2 separate regions of the Homo sapiens genome follow, and region 1 is linked to region 2. Evidence: promoter capture Hi-C in 16 types of primary human blood cells and fetal thymus (Javierre and others, 2016). All regions are on one chromosome and are shown on one strand. Each heading gives the region's core, a stretch centred on a gene start or on the middle of the fragment in contact. The rest is flanking DNA. Distances are from core to core; before and after follow the strand shown.

Region 1 (2,700 bases), core at 13-2,512, 150 kb before region 2:
AGACAACCTTTGTTTCTGTGCAGCTTCACTTCTCACCTTCCAGTAATGTCTGCCTCCCACTCTCTGGGTCCATTTATTCTCCCTGAAGATTTACTGCTCCTCAAAGAATTACCACATTCCCCATCTCACCCCTCCCCTATGAAAAGGGGTACATAAGCTTCTGTTCCACCCTAGGTTATTGGATAATCATTCTATGATTCCCTCCATGCTATGCACATTAAAATTAAATTTTTTATGCTCTTTCTTTTGTTAATCTGCCTTTTGTCAGCTGATTTTTAGGGAACCTCCAGAGGGCAAAGGGGGAGTTTACCCTCAGCCCCTATAATATTTTTATTCATTTAACCCAGGTTCTTTTTTACCAAGTAGTATATTCCTTTTAAGTTAGCTCTACTTATGGGCACCAAATATTCAAAGTCACAGAATGCATGAATGAGTGAGAAAGAGTATATATGTATATGGGGAAAGTTTTATCTTTATTGTCCCCGTTGAAATATGCATTACCTTTGGCTGTAAATATAACTGGACAGGCAAATGCAAAACACACAGTCTGGTTCTCTCATTGAAAAGCTCGCTCTGCCCCTTCATGGTTTGACTCTATGGAAAGTTAGCGGTGGTTGGTGTTTGGTGTCAAATGGAAACAATTTTTTTTGTTTTTGAGACAGTCTCACTCTGTCACCGAGTCTGGAGTGCAGTGATGTGACACTCTGTCACCCAGTCTGGAGTGCAGTGGTGTGACCATGGCTCACTGTAGCCTTGATCTCCTGGACGCAAGAGATCCTCCTGCCTCGCCCTCCCAAAGTGTTAGAATTATAGGCGTGAGCCACCCCAACAGCCAAAACAATTCATTCTTAAAGCAGTTGGGGCAGAGGCTGGACGCAGTGGCTCATGCCTGTAATCTCAGCACTTTGGGAGGCCAAGGTGAGAGGATCACTTGGGCCCAGGAGTTCACAACCATCCTGGGCAATATAGCAAGCCCCTGTCTCTACAGTAAAAATTCAAAAATGAGCCAAGCATGGTGGCATGTGCCTGTAGTCCTAGCTACTCAGGGGGCTGGGGTAGGAGGATCCCTTAAGCCCAGGAGTTTGAGGCTGTAGTTACTATGATCATACCACTGCACTGTAGCCTGGGTGACAGGGCATGACCCTGTCCCTTTTATATATGTTAAAAAAAGGAAAAGCAATTAAGGCAGATCAAAGGCATATGTGCTCAGAGGGGTAGTCTGGCTTGGGGTGTCAGAGCCCCATAGGAGGGGAAGGAAGGCAGGCAGGAAGGGAGGGAGGAAGGGAGGGAGGGAGGGAGGGACGGAGGAGAAAAGAGGAGAGGAGGGGAGGGGAGGGGAGGGGAAGAGAGGGGAGAGGAGAGGAGAGGAATTTAATTATTTTGGAAATAGAGCACTGGAACATTATTTTCCTAGCCAAGTTTTCCCAGCATGTAATCAAGGACGATAACTTTCTGCATGCTTTCCCAGCTTTTGTCTTCCTCCTCTCAATTATCTGGGACTTCAATTTAAAAAGAGAATGAAAGGGAGGGAGAGAAAGTGGAATTAGCCTAGATCCATGTACTTGACTGTCTCATTCATTTCTTTTGGCTGCTAATGAAAGGTCAGGAAATTTTCCCCTGGCTACAGATGGCTCAGAACCTGACACTACTGAGTTGATCAGTTGCCCAGTAAGAAAAGAGAACATTAAATTGTGTGCCATGACATTATGCTGCTTTAGACAAATTTATAAATTCTGCTTTCTTGAGTGTATCAGTAATTCTACTCCAATTACACATGTCTGGCCTGAATGGATAATTCACAATCGGCATATAAAAAGGGACCTAACAACCTTGGAAGTCTAACAGTAAGCCATCACTCTCCATGTCAGCTAGAAACAAAAAGAGAATTAGTGCTAGGACTGAAATGCTTCTCCAAACTAAAAGAGATGTTTAGGGTTCTACTAAAAGTCAACAGTTTCCATTAGGCATGATCAGGTGGTTCCTGATATAAACAAACACAGGTGACATGGGTCTCACAGGCAGTCTTGCCCAAAAGATAGACGAGCAGTTGACATCTTCCCCTCTAGTTAATTTCCATGCAAGCAGGTTGTAATATAAGCTCAAACTTAGCCACTATAAGATAGTAGTGAAACCGTGGGGTCCAATATTATGCCAACATGGAGAAAATATGTTCCATACCCATACAAGAGAACAGGAATCCTAGGGGGTAAAATTCAATTGTAGTAGGCCTTAATTGTTTGATCATATTTTTGCCTGCCTTCCCTACCTCTAACAATATTGGAAGTAACAATATATTGACAATTGATAATTTGTCTAAAACTGTCCAGTTTACTTCACAATGTGTGTTTGTGTTAATTTTGAAACCACTTAAGCTTATAGAAAAGTTGCACATAACTGTACAAAGAGCATACCTTTCAACTATTTAAGAGCAACTGGCCGATCTATTGTACCTCTCCTCAGATAATTTATCTTGCATTTTCTATGAGGCAGGACATTTTCCTGCATACTCAGAAAACATTAGAACTTGGATATTAACACATTGCTATCATCTAATCCACAAACCTACTCAAATTTTGCCAACTGTTCTAATGGAATACTTCAAGAAAACGATCTAGTTCAGAATCAGGTGTTGCAGTTAGAGGTCATGTCACTCTAGTCTGGAATAGTTCTTCAGTCTTTCTTTGACCATCATGGCCTTGA
Region 2 (2,700 bases), core at 33-2,532:
GATGCTTTCGATGGGGTTGTTGCGAAGCCAGAGCTCCCGCAGCTTGGACAGGTATTCAAAGGCCCCGCTAGGGATGACTGTCAGCCAGTTGTCGAACAGCTCCAGGGTGTTGAGGCTGGCCAGGCCGTTGAAGGCCCCCACCTCAATCTGCCGGATGGAGTTCCTGCCCAACTGCAGGACCTCCAGGTGGTGGAGGTGGCGGAAGGTGTCGGCCTGGATCATCTGGATGTTGTTCTCCATGAGGTTGAGGTACCGGGTGTTCGAGGGAATACCCTGCGGGACCTCGGAGAGGCCCCGGCGCGTGCACACCACCTTGCTGAACTGGTTACTGCACGAGCAGACGGAGGGGCAGTTCTGGGGCCCGGCTGAGGCGGCAGCAGCGATGGCTGCACACAGAATCCACACTTGCGCCGTGAGGTAGACGAACGGGAGCAGGATGGCATTCCAGGTGTGGTGGTGCACAGTTACCTGCCACAAGAGCTTCATGGTGTGGCACGTTCATAATTCACCATCGCCTGGGATTTTGGCTCGGAAAGGAGAACCAGCCCTACCCCGGCTTAAGTGAGCTAGGAGCTCCTCTTTCCATCTGGAGAAGGAGGTGGGGAGGGGGCGATTAGAGAGACGGAGCGGATCGGCCGAAAAAAATCCTGCCAAACTCGAGCGGCCCCTGGTCTCCCAACCCACCCTCAAGGCAAGCCCTCCGAAAGCTACGACTCTCCCACACTGCAACCGTCCCCACCCAGTTCGCCGTCACCTACCTCGGAAGGAAGGCAGGAAAGCACTGGCGTGGTGTCCTTAAGCTTTCTCCACGGGAGCTGGGCACCTCGTTCCCATTCCGACTTCTTAGTTTTAATTAACAAAAGGGGGAAGTGGTGGGGGCGGGGAGGGCAGAGGGGAGGGGAGGGGAGGGGAGGGAAGGGGTGGGGGAGACAAAATGGCCTCTAGTAAATCCGGAGCCGGAGCCGGCGAAGCCGCGGAGTTGAGGCGCGCCTGGGAGAGCCAAGGCCCGGCGGGCTATGCAGGTGCATGCCCCCCCCTCCGCCCAAGGAGCGGCGCCACCAGCGCTTCCCGGCTTTGTCCTTGGACCCTGGCACCGGCTCGCTCCAGCCGCGGGGGAAGGCGCTTCATCGCCAAAGTGCGCTCCGGCGGCCCCGGCCCGCTCTGCGGGCCGCCGCCGGAGGGAGTGCGGGGGCGCCCCGAAGCCGCCCAGGCCGCACTCGCTGGATGCTGCGCTCCCTCTCCCGGCGTCGGCCGCTCCGGGCCGGCGGCAGCTGATTGCGGTCGTGAGCTCGCGGAGCGGCGAGAGTTAAGAGGAGGTGTTCGCGGCGCCTTCGCCCTCCCCAGACACACACCCCCTTTCTCCTCGCCTCTTCTCGGAGGGTGGAAGAGACAAAAACGGGGGGTCAGTTCTCCAGTCCGCCGGCTGCCGGCACGCGGGGCGGCGCTCCGTCCGGCCCCCGAGGACCAGCGGCGTGGCGGCTGCGCTCGGACCCGGTCCGCCGGCCGGAGGAGCGCGCGGCGCCCGCGGTCGCGCCCGCACCGCAGGCCCCTTCAGAGAGTCCGGGGGCGGGCGCGGGTCCGGCGGCGGCGGCGGCCGCAGCCCCCGGCGGCGCGCAACCGCCCGTCGCCGCCCGCCGCTGCCCGGCCCCCGGCGCGCCGCCGGCTCCGGCTTTGTGCGGAGGGAGCGAGTTCGCGGCTTCGGCTCCCGGCGCCCTCAGTGGCCGCGCCGCCAGCGGACTGCTGCAGCGGCGTGAGCAGCGGGGGTCGCGGCTGCGGGAAACGCTCCGGAGCCCAGGAACATAGTCCCCGCTGGCTAGCGGCGGCAGCAGCAGCAGCGGGGCCCCTGCGCGCGGCGCCCACCGTCTCCTCCTCGCGCCGGGCTCGCGGTGTTGCAGGCGGCAGCCACGCAGACTGCTCTCTCATCCTTTTGTCCTTCAGTCAGAACGTGAATGTACTGCTGACGCATACTGTTCTGGGAGAAGATTAGCGTGATGCAGTGCTCTTATGTATTAGCGCCGCTCCCCCTCCGTCGCCTGCCTCGCGGGGTTAACGCCGGCGCCTTCCAGCGCCGCGCCGGCCGGCGCCGCGCAGCCCCGCGCCTCCGGCCGCCCGTCTTCCTCTTTCCTCCTTCCTTCCTCCTCTCTTCCTCTCTCCCCCTCCCCCCTCCCCCCTCCCCGGGCCGCTTCCTCCCCGCCCCCTCTAGACGAGCGGAGCGGGGCCAGGGCGAGCGGGCGAGCGAGCCGGAGTGAGCGTCAAGTGAGGGGCCGCGCGCAAGTCGCAGGCGTTCGCAGCTATTTTGGGCCGGTCGGAGGGAGCAGTTGGGTGGCCGCTGATAGGCTGGAGCGGCGCGGGGCTGCGGCGGGAGAGCCCGCGCCGGCCCCCGCCCTCCGGCCCGCACCCGGGGCCCCCTGGCTCTGAAGAGCGGGGCTCAGGGGCCCGGCGGCCCGCGGCGGGGCTGCTGCATTTGGCCTGCCTCTCGCCCGGCCCGCGTCATCCTCACCCCCGCTGACTGCTGACGGGGCGCGGACTCGCGTTCGGAGTTCGGAACTGCGTGGTGGGGACTCGGGGGACGGCGGCCGGGGCCACGAGGCTCCCAGGACCGAGAGCCCGGGCTTCGCTGCTGCACTGCCGCCAGCCCCTCCTTCGCTTTGCCTCACCCCTCCTGTGCTCTCACTGGGGCTTTAAATGAGGGTTTCCTTA

What was found. The method cuts DNA at HindIII sites, captures the fragments that hold promoters and counts their contacts. A CHiCAGO score of 5 or more calls a contact.
Region 1: a fragment that was not itself captured here is called in contact with the fragment with the promoter of LRRC4 in region 2 in 1 of 17 cell types (neutrophils); the score reaches 5.1 in neutrophils.

The regions. Positions count from the first base shown.
Region 1 is chr7:127,881,104-127,883,803 of GRCh38, forward strand. All of the region lies in intron 12 of SND1 (staphylococcal nuclease and tudor domain containing 1), which reads left to right. Among named protein-coding and RNA genes, the nearest start is that of SND1-IT1, 120 kb to the right of the region's middle. The HindIII fragment of the contact is 2,215 bases long and covers 156-2,370 here.
Region 2 is chr7:128,030,155-128,032,854 of GRCh38, forward strand. LRRC4 (leucine rich repeat containing 4) reads right to left here and starts at 1,283. Exons shown (of 2, transcript NM_022143.5): 1 at 759-1,283; 2 at 1-586. The coding sequence starts at 486. The region is part of intron 16 of SND1 (staphylococcal nuclease and tudor domain containing 1); the gene reads left to right. RefSeq lists silencers at 1,727-1,846, 2,497-2,566. The HindIII fragment of the contact is 11,709 bases long and covers 799-2,700 here.